Linked DNA regions of Homo sapiens: regions 2, 3, 4, 5, 6 and 7 are each linked to region 1. The links are contacts of gene promoters, found by promoter capture Hi-C in blood cells and fetal thymus (Javierre and others, 2016). All regions are on one chromosome and are shown on one strand. The core of a region is centred on a gene start or on the middle of the fragment in contact, and the rest is flanking DNA. Distances in the headings are between cores, read along the strand shown.

What was found. Contacts are between HindIII fragments. The CHiCAGO score rates a contact against its expected background, and 5 or more counts as called.
Region 2: a fragment that was not itself captured here is called in contact with the fragment with the promoter of UBE2E2 in region 1 in 1 of 17 cell types (endothelial precursors); the score reaches 5.9 in endothelial precursors.
Region 3: a contact is called between a fragment that was not itself captured here and the fragment with the promoter of UBE2E2 in region 1, in 2 of 17 cell types (endothelial precursors and total B cells). The highest score is 6.6, in endothelial precursors.
Region 4: a contact is called between a fragment that was not itself captured here and the fragment with the promoter of UBE2E2 in region 1, in 6 of 17 cell types (endothelial precursors, naive B cells, total B cells and 3 more). The highest score is 7.5, in endothelial precursors.
Region 5: a contact is called between a fragment that was not itself captured here and the fragment with the promoter of UBE2E2 in region 1, in 3 of 17 cell types (endothelial precursors, total B cells and naive B cells). The highest score is 5.9, in endothelial precursors.
Region 6: a fragment that was not itself captured here is called in contact with the fragment with the promoter of UBE2E2 in region 1 in 1 of 17 cell types (endothelial precursors); the score reaches 6.8 in endothelial precursors.
Region 7: a contact is called between a fragment that was not itself captured here and the fragment with the promoter of UBE2E2 in region 1, in 2 of 17 cell types (naive B cells and total B cells). The highest score is 6.3, in naive B cells.

Annotation. Positions count from the first base shown.
Region 1 is chr3:23,201,957-23,204,776 of GRCh38, reverse strand. UBE2E2 (ubiquitin conjugating enzyme E2 E2) reads right to left here and starts at 1,450. Exons shown (of 6, transcript NM_152653.4): 1 at 1,313-1,450. It overlaps UBE2E2-DT (UBE2E2 divergent transcript), which reads left to right and starts at 1,784. Exons shown (of 2, transcript NR_136176.1): 1 at 1,784-1,913. RefSeq lists a silencer at 1,290-1,979 and enhancers at 2,330-2,389, 1,802-2,777. The HindIII fragment of the contact is 2,247 bases long and covers 1-2,148 here.
Region 2 is chr3:23,680,304-23,683,123 of GRCh38, reverse strand. LOC124909353 (a long non-coding RNA gene) reads right to left here. Exons shown (of 2, transcript XR_007095844.1): 2 at 1,361-2,820. Among named protein-coding and RNA genes, the nearest start is that of UBE2E1, 120 kb to the left of the region's middle. The HindIII fragment of the contact is 5,525 bases long and covers 1-2,820 here.
Region 3 is chr3:23,635,414-23,638,233 of GRCh38, reverse strand. No RefSeq gene overlaps it. Among named protein-coding and RNA genes, the nearest start is that of UBE2E1, 170 kb to the left of the region's middle. The HindIII fragment of the contact is 1,579 bases long and covers 574-2,152 here.
Region 4 is chr3:23,610,367-23,613,186 of GRCh38, reverse strand. No RefSeq gene overlaps it. Among named protein-coding and RNA genes, the nearest start is that of UBE2E1, 190 kb to the left of the region's middle. The HindIII fragment of the contact is 1,003 bases long and covers 950-1,952 here.
Region 5 is chr3:23,591,363-23,594,182 of GRCh38, reverse strand. UBE2E2 (ubiquitin conjugating enzyme E2 E2) reads right to left here. Exons shown (of 6, transcript NM_152653.4): 6 at 2,389-2,820. Among named protein-coding and RNA genes, the nearest start is that of UBE2E1, 210 kb to the left of the region's middle. RefSeq lists enhancers at 152-261, 282-331. The HindIII fragment of the contact is 3,698 bases long and covers 1-2,820 here.
Region 6 is chr3:23,574,864-23,577,683 of GRCh38, reverse strand. The region is part of intron 5 of UBE2E2 (ubiquitin conjugating enzyme E2 E2); the gene reads right to left. Among named protein-coding and RNA genes, the nearest start is that of UBE2E1, 230 kb to the left of the region's middle. The HindIII fragment of the contact is 1,762 bases long and covers 496-2,257 here.
Region 7 is chr3:23,532,440-23,535,259 of GRCh38, reverse strand. UBE2E2 (ubiquitin conjugating enzyme E2 E2) reads right to left here. Exons shown (of 6, transcript NM_152653.4): 5 at 2,559-2,706. Among named protein-coding and RNA genes, the nearest start is that of UBE2E1, 270 kb to the left of the region's middle. The HindIII fragment of the contact is 7,382 bases long and covers 1-2,820 here.

The sequences.
Region 1 (2,820 bases), core at 201-2,700:
TGCACACAGCAATATCCAGCTTTAAATTTAACTGCAAAGACATTTATGCAGAAAATAACAGTGGAACACCTGATTTGGGGGTAAAAGGTGCTGCAGGGGAAAGAGAATGGGGTATGGCATTATATGAAAACACTCTATTTCAGCGTCAGCCCACATACAGAATTCCAAAGAGCCAAGGAGCATCCAAATTGCCGTAGTAAAGGCAAATATTTAGATTCACAAAGTCCAGACTGAATTATCACATATCTAGAAACATACTTTTTAAAGAAATCAGGGATTAAAAACTAAGAAGAGCGTAAAATCCTTTAGAACCGCGAGATACTTTGAGGGTAAACCCTAGCACTTCCTTTCGTACTTTTAAATAAAAATATTTTAGTAGACTCTCAAGAATACACAATACAAAACGATGAATCTTGAAAACATGCAAATGGGTCTAACAGCCACCGAGCACAGGATGATGTCTTTCTAAAGCAGCCTTAATTTCCTTAAGGGAAGATGGATTGGACATTTCTGGTTGGTCGTGGGGGAAAAAAGCCACAAGAAGCCACGCTTTATCTTCATTAGAAATGGTAAAGGGCAAAAAGATCAAAACATTATGAGAGAGATCGGAGAAAAGAGGGGGAGAAGTGGGGTGGGCGGGAAGGGGGAGAGGACAGAGGGAATCCAGTTTCAAACCAGGCCAGTGGGGGCTGCAGAGAAGAGACCAGAGAAAAATGGGCTTCGGTTCCAAACTGTGACAAGCGCCAGGCATCACAAAAGACCAATACAACACACACCCCTCACCAGGACACACACAAATATACCCCACAAGGTCTTCTCCGGGCGGGCCACCGGGGTGCGGCGGCGAAGGAGCCAAACCCGGCACTCGCCAGGAGACACACCATGTGCAGCAATTATGCAATTAGGGAAAATAGCAAAAGATCAAGCCGGGCACTTTCCACCGTGACATTTATCCTGTACTTTTGAAAAGACTTAGTTCCAGGATGCGGCTAGGAGAAGGAAAGCGCTGGGAGGGTTGAGAAGGATGGGGAACTGAGAACGGAAGGGGGTAGAAGGAGGACAGGGAGAGAAGAGGCAGAAGGGGGGGATGGGAAGAAGGGGGAGGGGTAGAAAGGGCGAGAAACGGGGGCAGGAGGCTCGCGGGAGGGGGCGTAGGGAACCGGGCACGGGGAGCGAGGAAGGAGGGAACTAGGGCACGAGCGGTGTAAGCAGAGACCTGCGACGCGGAGGGGAGGTCGGGGGAGTGAGGAGGACGTCAGCGAGAGGGAGGACGCCCGAGGAGGGGAGGCACCGGCGCGGCCCGAGCGAATACCTGAGGGGGGGGTGTCCGTGCAGGTCGCAGGCTCGAGCCGAAGCCCTGGGAGAGAGCTGCCCAGGCGCGAGGGGGAGGGAGACTGGGGAGGCCCCAGGGACGGGATGTCCCCTGCGGACCGTCTAGTCACCGAAAGCCGGACCCACGCACCACGCACCCGACCACGCCTGTCCCCGCCGCGCTCGCGCCCGCCCGGACTCACCCTCAGCGCCGCCGCTGCCGCCGCCCCCGGCCGTTCCAGCTCCGGCTCCTGAGGCTGCTGCCCGCGGCTGTCGCTGTGGCTGCCCCTGAGTCCTGGAAAGTGAAGCCACCACCTCCGGGAGCCGCCGCCGCCCGGCCGTCCGCGCGCGCACCCGCGAGTGCGCGTGCCTGCGCGCCCGCCCGGGAGAGACCGCGAGAGCGCGAGCCCCACGTCGGCCATGCGGCGCCGCGCGCCTCCCTCCTCCCCCCGCCCCTCCTCCTCCGGCGCGCGGCCGCGAGGGGGCGGGGGCGGGAGCGCGCCCGGGCGGGCTGCCCCGCCGGTCGGGAGAGGGGGTGGGGAGGCGGCGAGGAAAAGTAAAGTGACAGCTGGGTCCCGCGCGCAGACTGGGCTCTGACGGGGGTGAGCGAGGGGCGTCCCACGGGGAAGGAACGACAAGGACGGGGAGAAGTGGGGGAAACCGAGGCTGACGGGGTGGCTTGAGGGGAGGGGACGCGAGGACCTTGCCGGGCACGCGCATTAAAGGGAAACGCCGGCTGGGGGTTAGGGGTTACCCCAAGACGGTGCAGGCAGTGGGACGAGGAGGCCTTTTACCCCCATCCACCGCAGCCCTTGACTTCACGCTCGCCTCGAAGCTTTCGCAAAGTAGATACGGGGACTGACCCTGTTGACACACTAACCCAAACTCGCAGACGCGTGGGGCTCGCATGTACCCAAGACAGGAAAACTTCACGTTGGCCTGGAAACTTCTTCCAGGCTAAGCCTGAGTCTTCACCAGACACTGCAGCACGAAGGCCCTTCTGCCTTTTGGCTCGCCCTGGCCCAGAATGCGCACCAGCCGGTAGAGAGGAGCTTCGGGCCGTTTAGCCCTGGGGTATTGAAGAGAGGGGTGGGGGTACAGGGTGCACCACTGTCAGAGTGAGTGGGAAGCTGCCTTCATGCCCAGTTGAAGGATATGGGAACAGTAGCAGTGCTGTAGGTGGCATGAGGGAACATTAGGTTCCGTTGTACTCCTCATCCCAAATAACCGTTTAAAAAAAAAAAAAAAACGTACCTGCTTTGCGAACTTAGCTTCCACGAAATTTCTCCCACTCCAACCTCCAGCCTCACTTACCAACGGAATGCTGGGTCGTTGGCAACGGGGTGTCCAGGGATGCAGCAAAATTAACTTCTATCTTTGTGGAGGAAAGGATTGGAAGATCTTTCACTGCTTAATTGCTGAAATTATGGTTGCTACAGTACTTCATTTGACTGTAGATGTTTTAACTGCTATTTACTAAGTTCAAAATGGGTTTAATACAAATCAGTT
Region 2 (2,820 bases), core at 159-2,658, 480 kb before region 1:
CATAGAGATCACTTGAGCCCAGGAGTTTGAGACCAACCTGGGCAACATGGTAAGACTCCATCTCTACACAAAATTTAAAAATTAGCTGGACATAGTGGTACATGCCTGTAGTCCCAGCTGCTTGTGGGGGCTGAGGTGGGAGGATTGCTTGAGCCTGGAAGGTCTTGAACTCCTGGGCTCAAGCCATCCACCTGCCTCAGCCTGTCAAATTGCTGGGGTTACAGGCATGAGCCACCACACCCAACCTCACTCCTTGTCCTAAAGCCAGCTCAAATGCCAGTCCTCTAACATTTGAAACTGTTCTCTCAGAGCAGAGGTTCTTGAAGTGTGGTTCCCAGCCACCACCACCAGCAGCAGCAGCAACAGCAGCACCTGGGAACTGGCTGGAAACACAAACTCTCAGACCCTGCTCACGACTTTCTGAATCAATTGCTCTGGGGTTGGGGCCCACTCATTTAGGTTATTTATTTATTTATTTATTTTTATTTTTTTGAGACAGAGTTTCACTCTTGTTTCCCAGGCTGGAGTGTAGTGGTGCCATTTCAGCTCACTGCAGCCTCCGCCTCCCTGGTTCAAGCGATTCACCTGCCTCAGCCTCCTAAGTAGCTGGGATTACAGGTGCCCACCTGGCTAATTTTTGTATTTTTAGTAGAGACGGGGTTTCACCATGTTGGCCAGGCTGGTCTCGAACTCCTGACCTCAGGTGATCCTCCTGCCTCGGCCTCCCAAAGTGCTGGGATTACAGGCATGAGCCACTGCACCTGGCCTATTTAAAAAATTTTTTTGAGACAAAGTCTAGCCCTGTTTCTCAGGCTGGAGTGCAGTGGCGTGACCATAGCTCACTGCAGTCTCAACCTACTGGGCTCAAACAATCCTCCCACTTCAGCCTCCCAAGTAGCTGGGACTACAGGTGTGCACCACCATGTCCAGCTAATTTTTGTATTTTTTGTAGCGAAGGGGTTTTGCCATATTGCTCACGCTGGTCTTGAACTCCTGGGCTCAAGTGATCCTCCTGCCTCAGCCTCCCAAAATGCTGGGATTACAGTTGTGAGCCACTGTGCCCAGCCCATTTGGGTTTAAATACGCCCTCCAGGTGATTCTGGTGTACCTGAAGTCTAAAAACCCCTTTAAAGCATTCATCACAGTGTTTTGGGACTGTGTGTCTGTTTTCAGCCTAAGAATCAGATATTTTTCAGGACAAGAACTGTGCCTTACTTTATCTTTTTAATTAAAGTGCCTGGAACAGTACCCAATACTTGGTTGACCTCCAGTCAAGGTTTATGGTTGAAAAAAAGCAATTTGAAGTTGGATGTTGTATTAGTAAGGGTTCTCTAGAGGGAAAGAACTAATAGGATAGATGTATATAGGAAAGGGAGTTTATTAAGGAGAACTGACTCACACAGTCACCAGGTGAAGTCCCACGGCAGGCCGTCTGCAAGCTGAGGAGCAAGGAAGCCAGTAGTGGTTCAGTCTGAGTCCCCAACCCTCAAAGTTGACAGGGGAAGTTGACAGGGGCTCTCGGGCCTTCAGTGGTGTAAGTCCACTGGTGTAAGTCCAAGAGTCCAAAAGCCGAAGAACTTGGAGTCTGATGTTCCAGGGCAGGAAGCATCCAGCATAGGAGAAGGATGAAAGCTGGAAGACTCAGCCAGTCAGCTCCTTCCACTTTCTTCTGCCAGCTTTTTCCAGCCAAGCTGGGGCCGATTGGATGATGCCCGCCCACACTGTGGGTGGGTCTTCCTGAGGGTGGGTCTTCTCCTAGCCCACCAACTCAAAAGTTAATCTCTTCTGGCAACACCCAGATACACCCACAAACAACACTTTTCATCCTTCAATCCAATCAAGTTGACACTTAATATTAACCATCCCAGAAGTCATGATGAGTTCCTTTTCATTTTCCTGTCCTTGAGATCAAATCTAGTTCTCAGAGACTATACAATTAAACACGGAAGAAATAAAACAGAAAATGTCATCAACTCTCAGATAGTAGGGAGGGGTGGGAAAAGGAGAGTCACAGAAAGCTCCTAATCATAGTTTTTATTTTATTTTATTAATTAATTAATTAATTAATTTGAGACGGAGTTTCTCTCTGTCATCCAGGCTGGAGTGCAGTGGTGAGATCTTGGGTCACTGAAACCTCTGCCTCCCAGGTTCAAGCGATTCTCCTGCCTCAGCCTCCCAAGGAGCTGGAACTATAGGTATGCAGCCACTACATCCAGCTAATTTTTGTATTTTTAGTAGAGACGAGGTTTCACCATGTTGGCTAGGCAGGCCTCAAACTCCTGACATCAAGTGATCCACCTGCTTTGGCCTCCCAAGTGCTGGGATTACAGGCATGAGCCACTGTGCGTGGCCCTAATCATAGTTTTTAAAAATCATTAAAATGTAGCACCAAAATAATCTTAACATAGTGTGTATTAGTTTCTAGGGCTGCTATACGGAAGTACCACAAGGCAGGTGACTTTAAACAACATTACCTTATTCTGTCACAGCTCTGGAGGCTGGAAGTCCAAAATCAATGTCAGCAGGGCCATGCTGTCTCCGTGACGGCTCTTGGGCAGAATCTGTCCCATGTCCTTCTTTCAGTTTCTGGAATTGCTGGCAATCCTTGGTGTTCCATGACTTGTATCCGTGTCACTCCAATCTCTGCTTCTGTTGTCATATGGTATTCTCTCTGAGTGCCTATCTATGTCTCCTTTGCTTATCAGCTCACCAGTCATATTGGGTTTAGGGTCCACCATACTGAGCATCTTAACTTGCTTACATCTGTAATGACCCTATTTCCCAATAAGATCACATTCATAGGTACTAGCTTAGGAGTTG
Region 3 (2,820 bases), core at 114-2,613, 430 kb before region 1:
TGAACCTGGGAGGCAGAGGTTGCAGTGAGCCGAGATCACGTCACCGCAGTCCAGCCTGGGCAACAGAGTGAGATCCTGTCTCAAAAAAACAAAACAAAACAAAACAAACAACAACAAAGAAAATATCAATAAAGAGAAACTATTAAAAAGAACCACATAGAAATTCTGAACATAGAAAGTACAAACAGAAATGAAAAATTTATAAAGGGGTTCAACAGTAAATTTGAGCTGGCAGAGAAATCCAAAGGAAGTCAGAAAGTACTTAGAGCTAAATGAAAATAAAGACACGGCATACCAACACTTATGGGATACAGCTAAAGTAGTGCTGAGAGGGAATTTTATAGCTATAAATGCCTATGTTAACGAAGAGGAATGATCTCCAATCAGTAACCTAAACTTCTCCCCTAGGACTCTGGCAAAAGAAGAGCAAACTAAACTGAAGCAAGTAGAAGGAAGAAAAGAATAAAAATTAGAGTAGAAATTAATAAAATAAAATAAAAAGTAGGAAAACAATAGAGACAATCAGTAAAACCAAAGTTGATTATTGAAAAGATGGACAAAAATGACAAAGCTTTAGCTAGATAGACCAAGAGAAAAAGAGAGAAGGCTCAAATTGCTAGAATCAGAAATGAAAGAGGAGACACTACTACTGACTTTACGGAAATACATGGGATTATAAGGGCATACCACAGGCTGCATGCCAAAAAAAGCAGATAATTTAGATGAGATGGAAAATTCACAGAAAGACATGTACTACTGAAACTGATTAGAGAAGTAGAAAATCTGAATCGACCTATATCCGGTAAAGAGATCAAATTAGTAATTTTCAAACTTCCTGTGAAAGAAAACTCAAGTCCAAGTGGCTTCACTGATACACTTCCCAACTCATACTTTGAGGCTAGTATTTACCCTGATACCAAAATCAAAGACATTACAAGAAAAGAAAAAAGGACCAACATCCCTTATGAATACAAAAATTCTCAAAAATGCAAACATAAAATACTGGCAAACAGAATACAGCAACATATAAGGAGGTTTATATACCATGAGCAAGTGGGATTTATAACAGGAATACAAGGTGAGTTTACAGTCAGAAATCAATTAATGTAATACACACTATTAATAGAATAAAGCATGCATAGTAGAAAGGAAGAATTAAAACAACCTCTTTTTACAGATGACATGATCTTGTATATAAAAAATCCCAAGGAATCTACTAAAAAACTAATAGAACTAGTAAACAAGCTCATCAAGGTAACAGGATATAAGATTAATATTCAAAAGTCAATTTTATTTCTACTCACTAAAAAGAAATATTGCAAAAAGGAAATTAAAATAATTCAATTGATAGTAGCATCAAAAAGAATAAAATAGGCATAAATTTAATAAAAATACACAATTTATACACTTAAAACTATAAAATATTGCTGAAATAAATTTAAAAGTCCTCAATAAATGCATTAGAATGGTATAAATCATTGCTTGGAAGATTCAATATCACTAAAATGGCAGCATTCCCCAAATGGATTTATAGATTCAACGCAGTCTCTATCATAATCCCAGCTGGTCTGTGGTAGAAATTGATATACTTATCCTAAAATTCTCATGAAAATGCAAGGGACCCAGAATAGACAAAACAACCTTGGAAAAGAAGATCAAAGTTGGAGGACTCACATTTCCTGATTTCAAAACTTGCTACCAAAGTTACAGTGATCAGGGCAGTTGCTGTGGCTCATGCCTGTAACCCCAGCACTTTGGGAGGCCAAGGTGGGAGGACTGTTTGGGTCCAGGAGTTCGAGACCATACCAGGCAACATAGGGTGGCCCTCATCTCTACAAAAAAAAAAAAAACAAAACAACAACAACAACAAAAATTTAAAAATTAGCCAGGTGTGGTGGCACGCACCTGTGGTTCCAGGTACTCAGGAAGCTGAGGTGGGAGGATCGCATGAGCCAGGAAGACAGAGGCTGCAATGACCTGTGACCATGCCAACTGCACTCCAGCCTGGGTGACACAGCAAGACTTTGTCTCAAAAAAATAAATAAATAAAAAATAAATTTAAAAAAGTTATAGTAATCAATACAGTGTGGTACTGACATAGACATAGTCACATAGGTCAATGGAATAGAATTGAGAATCCAGAAACAAAGCTTTATATATATCATCAGTTGGTTTTCTACCAGGGTGCCACAACAATTCGGTGGAAAAAGAATAATCTTTTCAACAAATGGTGCTGGAACAACTGGATACCCTTATGCAAAAGAATGCATTTCATATCATATGCAAACATTTACTCCAAATGTATTGGAGAGCTAAATGCAAGAGTTAAAACTATAAAACTCACTGGGTGCGGTGGCTCATGCCTGTAATCCCAGCACTTTTGGAGGCGGAGGAGGGCGGATCATTTGAGGTCAGGAGTTCAAGACGAGGCTGACCAACATGGTGAAACCCCATCTCTACTAAAAACACAAAAATTAGCTGGGTGTGGTGTCAGGCACCTGTAATGCCAGCTACTAGGGAGGCTGAGGCAGGAGAATCATTTGAACCCTGGAGACAGAGATTGCAGTGACCTGGGATCATGCCACTGCACTCCAGCCTGGGTGACAGAGTGAGACTCTGTCTGAAAAAACAAACAAACGAACAAAAAAACAAAACTATAAAACTCTTAGAAGAGATTTAAATACCCGAATTATAAGAAACAAAAGAAAGCATAGATAAAATTGGACTACATCAAAATTAAACACTTTTATGCATGGAAGGACATTATCAAGAAAGTGAAATGCCAACCTACGGAACAAGAGAAAATATTAGCAAATCATA
Region 4 (2,820 bases), core at 202-2,701, 410 kb before region 1:
TAGTATACTAAAGAGAAACGGAAATATTCTACACATAGACTTTATTTTATGGGAATGATAGTGCCTTCTGGGTCTTACTTCACTGGGATTTTTAAAAATCAAGGAAATATATATGAACGTGTTTTGTTCCCTCTGAAGAAATGTGGCATATAAATCCAAAACCTTGTTAACTTAATTCAATAAAACTTTATGGAAATGATATAAAAGCACCTGGTGAATTCTAGTTTATGCTCTAATTACCTACACAAAACATTTTTCACTCACTCCATAAAAGGGTTATAGCCCATTTTTTTTTTTTATTTATGCGAGCTTGAAATGAAACTCACTTCCCAGTAAGGAGGTGATTCGCTGTCAAATCATGGGAGAAAGATTGTTTGACGAGGAAAGTTGATAGTCACATCCACGTGTTCCTACCCCGCCTCACCACACCACACTCTGGAGCAAACAACTCCTTTTTCTTTTTTTTATTCTAAACTGCGCTTGAGAAGTCTTATTTATACAATTTTACGCAAGCTAAGGGGAGCACATTGCGTTCTAGTCTTCTTTTCTTCTCCCCCTCTCTCTCCTTTTTCACAGAACCTAATTATTGGACACATGGCTCCTTTAAAACAATCAAGAACAGGAAGGCATGTCCTCTCTGCCGTTCCCTCTGGCTCTGAGGAAAGGCAGCCCGTTCAGGGTTCAGGGCCCGGGAATTTTTTCTGAGCAATAACCAGCTTGAAGTGGCCCTGCCAATGGAGTCCTCTGGGGCTGAGTTATCGGAAGCCCCAGAGATGCTCGTTCTCTGCAGGACATGGAAGTCTACCCTGACCAGAGGAGGGGTGAGACCTTTCGCTAGGGTCCTTTCACCTGCTCCACGTAGACCCCCCACCAGAAGTCTGCACCCCTCCCGCCCCCTTTTGCCTCGGCAGGAAGTTTCACACTCGCTTGTCTGGCCCTGAAACAAGCTTCCTCTTTCTCAGATGCAAGGCCACCTACTCGCTCTGGAATTCCTTCACAGACTAACCAGGCCCTTCTTGAGCAGGCCCCCAAAAGAAAAATGATTAATGTGGCTGATACGTATATTGCAGACTGTCCGTCAACAGAAGTGGAAAAAAAACACCTTTGGGGGCTGTCCCTAGGCTTAGGCACTACAGCGAGTTCCCAGCTTCAAAGGAGCTTTATCTAAAAGCCATTTTTCTCTGGAGCTGAGAGGAGCAGGGAGAGCGGGCAGCCGGCCAGCCACAGCTGGAGAGAGGACTCTAAAGGCCTGTTGAGCACCAGCTCCTTTGCTGGGTTGCCGGCTCTGGTTTTATTTTGGCCGTGTCAGATTCTGGCTTGAGTTTGTACTGATGTTGCCAGCTCATTCGTTATGCCCATAAAATAATAATGCCAGCAATAACAACAATGAATAATAATAACACAGCAGATCCCGTTTACTCAGCACTCACCATGTGCCCGATGCTGGGCTACATATTTAACCTAAATTTTCTCATTTAATCCTTACAAACTCCTAGAGGTTTAATGACCTCCCTAAACCCAAGTCAGCCATGAAATTCTGTCTGAATCCAAAGCCCATTGAGGACTCTGCTCTTCTATATATGGCCTGGGCTGTATTTTCAAATCCCCAGAGGACGGAACTTTTAAAAGGCTGTTACCCGCCCAGGCCCTGGAGGCTGGGAGGTCACCGAGGGGCTGTCATTTTTAGGAAGGTCCTATCCACAGAGAGATGGCCAAGCAATGTGCCCACCTCTTTAAGTTAAAGGCTAAGGGAAACGTCACACTCTCAAATATTAGAAGGAAAATTATAAAATTGGTGAATATCAGAGTAAAGCAAAATTTGCCTTTCATATAGTAGACACTCAAAATCATTCTATGAAGTAGAACCCTCTAATTTTTTTTCTCCTAGACTTACCTCTTTTGTGCTTAGTAGGCCCTTTTGATGTCTGTGTAGGGGAGGTATTGCCCAAGCTTATTTTCTTTGTGACAACTTGAGTTCTTGAGCCATAGATTTTTAGGCCATGTAAAATGTAGGTGGAAACACAATTTCTCCCTTAACTTCTTTTTCTCTATTATCCTGATATTTAAAACATTCGTTGATTAAGTTTTTTTTTTTTTTTTGAGATGAAGTCTTGCTCTGTCTCCCAGGCCGGAGTGCAGTGGCGCAATCTCGGCTCACTGCAACCTCCGCTTCCTGGGTTCAAGTGATTCTCCTGCCTCAGCCTCCCAAGTAGCTGGGATTACAGGCGTGTGCCACCAAGCCCGGCTACTTTTTTTGTATTTTTAGTAGAGATGGAGTTTCACCGTGGTAGCCAGGATGGTCTCTATCTCCTGACCTCGTGATCCACTTGCCTCAACCTCCCAAAGTGCTGGGATTACAGGCGTGAGCCACTGCGCCCAGCCGATTAAGCTATTTTTGAACATATCATAGTAATGTGAACCACAAATTAGCATATTTTTCCAGGGCTGGAACATTTATTGAGGTTTCAGAACCTAAACATTTCCCAAGAAAACCTGCACATTAGTATTAGCAGAGTCCATAAATTGTTTTTAGAAACAGGTACTAAATAAATCCTAAATATATAAAGAATAGAAACGAAAACAAGACAACCTATCAGAGTTTATTTTAAATGTAATCCAGATAGAAGATTTCCACTCGGGCATTTTAGCAGCACACTCTGGCTTCGAGGCCGAGTGCAGCCCTGCGGTCAGCCACAATCCCCTTGGCTCTGTTGCTTAGTCAAGGAGCAAAATCAATGGCCTGTCCTTTCCTCTTCCCCCATTCCAGCCCTGTCCCCCAAGTCTCTCCATGCAAAGAATCCTTTGTAGTTGTACCTAATT
Region 5 (2,820 bases), core at 131-2,630, 390 kb before region 1:
AGTTGGCTCCCAAGGTGGCGGCATGGATGTGGGGAAACGCATGGCTACCATGGAAGGTCCTCAGAGGCCAAGCTACTCTAAGCTCCTTGATGGTCTCAACTCCCAAAGATTCCAGATCTGATGTAGCTTAAAATGTTAGGGTTCAGAATATAACTAGGTCAGCTCTTCAATGCCTCTGAGGACAATTCTAGGACTAGCTGAGGTATAGGGTGTGCTCATTCGGCTCGCAGTCCTGGTCCACATATGAAAGTGTTCTGTACAGTAAGGACATTTTGACAGTTACAAAGCTACCTTGAAATAAAATGCAGGTGGTCAGGATATCTGGTAGGGCTTTTTGGGTGCAATTTCAACTGTTTTCAGTATTAAGTATGAAGACCTCTCTTTTTAAAGATACAGACATCAAAAAGTTGCCATGCCTGACAATAATTAACACCCCTCTTATTGCAGTACTGAGATGCAGAGAAGTTCAGGGGTTTTCCAACTGACCTGTTTCCCCATGGCTGATCAAATCTGCATGCAGTACCTCTAAGATCAGAATGCTGGTCCCTCCTGTTTGGTCTCCCATCTAATATCAAGTCCACATTTTCTTCAACATTTTTTTTTCCCATTTTTTGAAGATGGCAAAACCCCACCACCTAGGAATTGTGCTCCTCCTTGACTCTAAGACTGAATTATGCCAATTCATTTTTATGGTATGCCCTCATAGTCAAAGGAAAGGTTTATGTGGTTTTGTCGTTGACAGTAAGGGCTCTGGTGTCACATGCTTGAATGGGAATCTCGCTTTGGCACCTGGTTAGCTTTTTGCGACTGAGGGCCACCTACACCCTTAAAAGGTAGGCTGAGCTTTTATTAGATGACTTATTATAGCCTGGTATAGTACATCCTGAATACATATTATTTCCTTTCTTTTTAATTCCTAAATAAGTTTACGTGATGAACTTCTATGTTTACTTCCTAATCTTGGAATAAGAAGAAAAGACTGACTACTTCTGCAGTTGCTATCATCAGTGGATTCCTGTAGAACAGATAAAAATCTTCCCCTTGTTTGCAGCTTGATGACAAATTAAGGACACAACGTTTTGAATGATTTAAGATCAACAAATATAATCTCAAACCATTTCCTCAATAACCAATGGTCTTGCCTCAGTCAAGGATCTGCCAACATTTTATCTAACATAGCTACAAATACTATATCTAGCAGTAACTAGTGTGAAAAATTCAGCATTATTATGGTACAAAATAATTCCTAAATTTTAGAAATGTTATCCCTGTATTTTTAAGCTAAACAATTTTGTTTACTGAGTGTCAAATTACTCTTAAATCTTATTTTACATGCATTTTAAAAAATTTATTGGAATTGTATTGCCTGCTGCAATTACAGATTTCAAGTAAAATGACCATGTTATTTGAAATCTAGACTTCAGCTCTACTAAGTTTGTTGGTTTCTCTGGAGTTTCTCTAGCTTTTACATTTTGAGGGCTGTGTACATTTGTCATGAAGTATGAATAAATCATAAAGTTGGGGAGAGAAGTTTTACAGCCTCTTCATATCACAGATGGGCATTAAACCTAAAAATGGGTCACAGGAAAACAAACAGGTCAGTGACTAGAATTCCTACTAGAGTTGTTGTAATCTTTGGTTCCTAAATATCACAAATTTTGTTTTGTTTTTGAGACAGCGTCTTGCTCTGTTGCCCAGGCTGGGGTGCACTGGCGCAATTATGGCTCACTGCAGCCTCGACTTCCTGGGTTCAGGTGATCCTCTGACCTAAGCCTCCCGAGTGGCGGGGACTACAGGCGTGCACCACCATGCCCAGCTCATTTTTGTATTTTTTTGTAGAGCCTGGGTTTTGTCATGTTGCTTAGGCTGGTCTCGAAATCCTGGGCTCAAGCAATCTCTACCTCGGCGTCCCAAGCTAGGATTACAGGTGTGAGCCACCAAGCCTGGCCTAATAACACATTTTTAAATGGTCTGATGTACAAGTAGATGTGAAATGTGCAATGTAATATATTTATCACTTAAAATGTGTGTTGGCTGGCTACAGTGGCTCAAGCCTATATAATCCTAGCAGTTTTGGAGGCTGTGGTGAGAGGATCACTTGAGGCCAGGAGTTTGAGACCAGCCTGGGCAACACAGTGAGACCTTGTTGCTACAGACCAAAAAAAAAAAAATTTAATTTAAAAACTGCCTATAAAGATTGTCTTTAAAGTATTAGTATTATGGGTCTGGTTTAATCAGCCAAAAGTAGGGGAAAAAAGCAGTTTAATAAAATTTTATTTTCAATGGTTCAATGCCTTTAGTGCTGAATTTTAAAATCTGAAGTAAAAATAAAAAACTTTGTGGTGAGAAACTGTAGGCAATTAAACATTCTGAGCAACTTTCCAAAAATCAGTGTTGTACCATATTGAATTTATTTTATGTTAAAGAAAGAAATGACACATCGTTATTTGTTTTTCATCCAGCCCCCAGTCTATGTTGGTCTGTGTCAGGGATTGGCAAACTACAACCCATGGGCCAAATCCCATGCCTATGGTGGTAAATAAAGTTTCACTGGAATATAGCTCTGCCCAATGCATTTATGTACTGTCTGTGGCTCCCTCTACTACAACTAGAGGGTTGAGTAGTGCATCAGAGACCATACAGTGCCCTGCTATGCTGAGAAATGTTTTTAAATAAAATGAATGGTAAAATCGTTATTAAAAAGACAAAAAATATTCTCAGGTATTTTGGTTTAGAAGTGGCATTTGCAATATTTAAATATATTTTCTTAGGATTTATTTTTAACTAGTTAAAAACAACAAAAACTGTATCTTTTGAATC
Region 6 (2,820 bases), core at 127-2,626, 370 kb before region 1:
GTAGCCACCTTCATCAATTATCTTAGCTAGATCTTCTGGACAACTTGCTGTAGCTTCTATATCAGCAACTGCTTCTACATCTTGCACCTGCCTTGTTCCTTGGTCACCCTCAACCTTGCAATTTTATGTTAGGAAGATGGCTTCTTTTTTAAAACCTTGTGAGCCTACCTCTGCTAGCTTCCAACTTTTTTTCTGCAGCTTCCTCACCTCTCGGCCTTCACAGGATTGCAGAGAGTTACGGCCTTATGCTGGATTAGGCTTTGGCTTAAGGGAGTGTTGTAGCTGGTCTGACTGTCTATCCAGACCACTAAATCCCTATCAGCAATAAGGGTGTGTTGCTTTTTTTTTTTTTTAAATCATTCCTGTGTTCATCAAAGTAGCACTTTGTATTTTCTTTAAGAACTTTTCCTTTCCATTCACAACTGGCTAATGCTTGACACAAGAGGCCTAACTTTTGGCCTGTTTTGGCTTTTGACATGCTTTCCTCAATAAGCTTAATTATCTCCATCTTTCAATTTAAAGTGAGAGACATTTGACTCTTCCTTTCACTTGAACACTTAGAGGCCATTACAAATCAATTACAATAGTAGCATCAGAGATCACTGATCACAGATCACCATAAAGGATATAATAATAAAGTTTGAAATATTGTGAGAATTACCAAAATGTGACACAGAGACATGAAAGAGCACACGCTGTTGGAAAAATGGGGCTGACAGACACGGGCTTGCTACTAACCTTCAATTTGTTAAAAAAAAAAAACAATAACAACAGTATATGTGAAACACAAAAGCACTGTCAAACGAGGTGTGCCAGTACTGCCTTTTAGCTGTCTGTTTACTTTTCTGTTTTCTCACTGGACGGGAGCCCATGCACTCATTCAACAAATATTTATTGAGCCCCTACTCTGTTCCAGGTACTGGAGAACCAGTGCTAAACAAGTTTCTCCCCTCACAGGACTGTCTGTCATCTCTGTATCCCTCTTACCCTATATGTTTACTGCATGGATGGATGGATGATTAGAAGAATATAAGTAGATAAGGTATACACACAACAACAGCCATATATAGCACAGTCACTCCACAAGGCAGGTGTTCCTTTGCAGCACTAGCATTATAAATAGATTGCATCATAGATGTTTGTCCTGTCTCTACTCAAGGATTACTAGGAAGTCAGAGATAGGGACATGGTGGTGATTTTAACAGCATTCTTTCACTTTTCTCCTCTAATTATGTAAACATAATTTAAAAATTATGTTTTTTTAAACATAATTATTTTGTTATTGGAATTTGTGGCCTGCACTTTGCCATTTCTTGGATTCTTCAAGGCTATGATCCACTGTCCTCCGGCAGTTCCACTGTATCTTTGATTAATGTTATTCTTTTCGCTCCCCAAGTCACTGGAGGCTATCTGTGAGTTGTCTTAAAATGAGAGAAATAATTAATTTTTGTTTCTTTCATAATACTTTTATTCCATGGTTTGGTCTAGCCTAGTTTTATTTAAATCTTTTATAAAATTAAAACATAACAGATGTGCATTATAATAAATTCAAATAATACAGAAGTATGTATAAAGTAAAAAAATACTACCTTCTCTTCAACTCAATACCCCCTTCCACCTTGAGGCAACTACAGTTAATGGTTTGACCCTCATCCTTCCATATTTTATTTATTTAAATAGAAATCGCACAGACATTCTGCAACTCGCATTTTCTTCTGTAACAATGTACCGTAGCTGTGTTTCTGAGACAGCACATATTGACTTAGCACATTAGTTTTAGTAACTATAAGGCATTCCTTTGCATAGTGAGTCAGCATTCATTTTTCCACTCCCCTTATGATCACATTTAGATTTTGATTTTTTGCTGTTAGAACTATATTACAGTCTTGTATAAATCTTTGAGGACATATTTGAGTACTTCTGGAGGGCAGATTCCTGGACCACTGTATACATTTTAAATGTCTGGTAAATGCTGCCAAACCACCCTTCAATAAAAGTATGTACAATTTACTCTCTTTCTGGGCATTCTCACCAACTCATTATCAGCTTTTTTGTTTTTTTTCCAAACTAACAGAAAAATAATCTGTCGTTGTACCTGTATTTAATTTGATACCTACTGAAGTTTAACATTTTTTCAAGTTTGTTCACCATTTGTATTTCTTCTGTGAGTATTTTGTTCATGTCCTTAGTCCATTTTTTCTAATATGAAGGAACACTTTATACACTATAAATATTGAAAACACACTATAACTAAGCTTTGGCCTCAGTACTCGGTCAAAATTTGCTTTAGCTTTTGGAAGACGGAATAGGCAAATGCCTCATTCAATGTCATTTCCAGGTTTACTGAACTTGTAGAGATCAAAGATCATATAGGTTATTATCACATATAGTAAGCATAACATCATCACTTGGACTTACTGTTAGTATCTGAATACTGATTTTTAAATATTGGTAAGCATTCTGAATGTAACTTGGGACTAAAAATCTCTTTTAGCCAAAGACAAACTACATAATATATGAAGGAAACATCTGGCATTGTCTACACATGTATTCACACAAATGTTCAAAATGAGAGAGAAGAGCAGCCACCACATGTTAAAAGGCTGCTGGAACAAACATGGTTTTAATGTTATCCACTGCAAGTGCTAATACAGGCTGAGTAGCCCTAATCTGAAGATCCAAATTCTGAAATGCTCCAATGCGCATTTCCTTTGAGAGTCATGTAGGTGCTCAAAAAGTTTCAGATTTTGGAGCATTTTCAATATCCAGATTAGGGACACTCAACCTGTACCAAAAGAAAATGACTTGGTAACAAGCAAC
Region 7 (2,820 bases), core at 161-2,660, 330 kb before region 1:
TGGCTTTCACATATACCATCTCATTTTAACCTCAGAGGAATCCAGTGATTTAGGCAGGGCTGGTACTAATCCCAATTTTATATCAAAAACTAAGCCTGTGGAAAGTTAAGTGACCCATCCAATGTGATATGACTAATAAACAATTAAACTGGTTTTCAAATCTACATCTGCTGTCTACAAATATCATGCTGATAAGGATGGGTAGTCATACCCTAAAGAACATCTGTGTTGGAATGGACCAAAAATTCTTTAAAGAGACAAGTGCAAATTACAAAAAGAGTATGAAAAAGATTTAGAAAATAAGTTTATGTATGGATAAGAGTGAGAAAGTATTTTTTAAGTGAGTTAAATTTGTATCATTATACAAGGCCTATTTTTGAGGTGACAGCATTTCCGGGTTAAAATAGCTCTACAGATTCAGTGTAGGAAAATCTTATTTATTCCTATTCTATCAAACTTGTTTTTGTGATAATTTGAAGATAGATTTAAGATAAACTTCAATCTAACCTAATCTTTCCTACCTCTGTAGGTAAAAAAACCTACAGAGATTGAAAGTGTACCAGATAACAGTGTGAAATAAGTCCATTAAGCAAAAGAATGGACATTTGACTACTTTAAAATAAACAACTCTATTTAAGATTCTAGAAGTGTCAACATTCATAAAAACCAATTAGGAAACTTTATTTTTATGTGTTAAAAAGTGTGATAAACTAAATGTTAGCATGTATTTTACAAATTCTCTTCTAGTCTCATATGAGGCAGGCTGTCTTTGGTTTTATGGAACATTATTTTTAGGCTTGTTCTTACTATCAATAGCATTATTTCAAAATCTATTTCTTTTACTTATGTGGTTCTGCTTTAGTTAGGAGTGATTTTTAAGTTTTTGCAGAATGCATTTGTAATTTTCTGAAACGGAGCAAAAAAAAAAAACTAGTTCACTGAACAGAAGTCTTTTTGATTGCTGAGAGAAGGCTTTGGTGGAATGAATCTATTCCTTTAAGCAGGAATATCTGTAGAGAGAACAGGCTGTCATATACAGGCTTATTCAGGGTAACAGATTCCATTTCAGCTGACTTGGAGGCAAAGCAGGCCAGGCTTCGAAATCACCTCAAAAAAAAAAAAAAAAAAAAAGCCTTCTTGCAACATTACCTCCAAATGAGGTTATACAAGGTTATACACAGTCACAGACAAATGGGATTAAAATGGGAACAACAGGACTGAAAGAACAAAATTAACTTTAAATTAGTATAACATTATTGGACTTTACTGTCTGTAGTAAAGTATGAATTAATTCAAAAAATATTTTATAATGATCCTGCACAATTTTATTTTTTGGGCAGGCTGGGTACAGTGGCTCATGCCTGTAATCCCAGCACTTTGGGGGGCCAAAGCGGGCGGATCACAAGGTCAGGAGTTCGAGACCTGGCTGGCCAACACGGTGAAACCCCGTCTCTACTAAAAGTACAAAAATAAGCTGGGCTTGGCGGCACACGGCTGTAATCCCAGCTACTTGGGGGGCTAAGATAGGAGAATCGCTTGAATCCAGGAGGCGGAGGTTGCGGGAGCCAAGATCGTGCCACTGCACTCCAGCCTGGGTGACACAGTGAGACTCAGTTTCAAAAAAAAAAAAAAAAAAAAAATACTAATTTGCTACTTTAAAAAAGATTTTACTGCTGAAAAATAAAGAAATATAAAAGTAGAAAGACTGTTATTTCTTGATGTTTTATAAAACAGCCAGGATCCTAAGCAACCCCACTGATACTCGTCATTTCCATTTGTGTAAAATTTCATGTATCCAGTGAACAGAGTTTACTCATGATTGTAGAAGAGGGAATCTCATGCAATATTTAAGCTATTAATTACTCATAAAATAATTCTCCCACTGAGAACATCAATGAAAACCCTATAGCTATCTTTGGATTTTTGTATTTTCTAAAATAAACCCAATTTGTAAAGACATGGCCCAGGAATTAAGAATTTTCAGTGGTAAGCACACCAGCAAGCCATAAAGGCCTGGCTATAGACTTTTTCGTTTTCTTGGGAGGTGTATTTCCTTGTTTACTTTTGGGGTATTTCCTAGAACAGACCATTCAGGACCGTTATAATAGCTTGTCAGGATGCACAGTTACTAGGATGCCAAAAAGGTCACGTCTGCATGGTGCTGCCTGGTTGTTATCAGATTTTAATAGCCCACATTCCTCAAATTAACATCTTCTAGTAGGCATCTAATTAAAGATTAAGCTATTCAACTTGAATTTTTATTATTATTTGGCAGGATAACTTAATTCATTCTTTAAACGTACTTTCCCATCTAAAATGATTTTTCATTATTTTTTTTACCACACTATACTTTTTCCTTTTTGGCAAATGATAGGTCTTAAAAACACTAATGAGAAGACCCAATTTAAAAAGAAAATAGTTACATACTATGAAAATTTAACAATAATAGTAGTAGAAGCAGTGGTGGTAGTGGTAGTAGCAGTAGTAAACAAGTTACTAAGGGTCTGACATTTAAATCTTGACAAGCTCCAATTCATACTAGATTTAAAGTCTCTTACCAGGGTTGCAATCTGTAAGAAGTGAGCAGATGGAGAGGAGAACTTTAGAAATAGTTAAAGCCGGACTCCAGTTGTCCTTTAAGATGTCCAGACAGATCACACCTTGGCTGTTAATATTACAGTGATAGATTCTTGTTCGGAAGGTAACCTACAAGAAAATGTAAAGTTATATTTTGTTAGACAAAGTGTTTATTAACAGTATCTATAGACAATTTTTGTCTAATAAAATTGCCTATTTTATCAGACAAAATAGCCCAGGCTA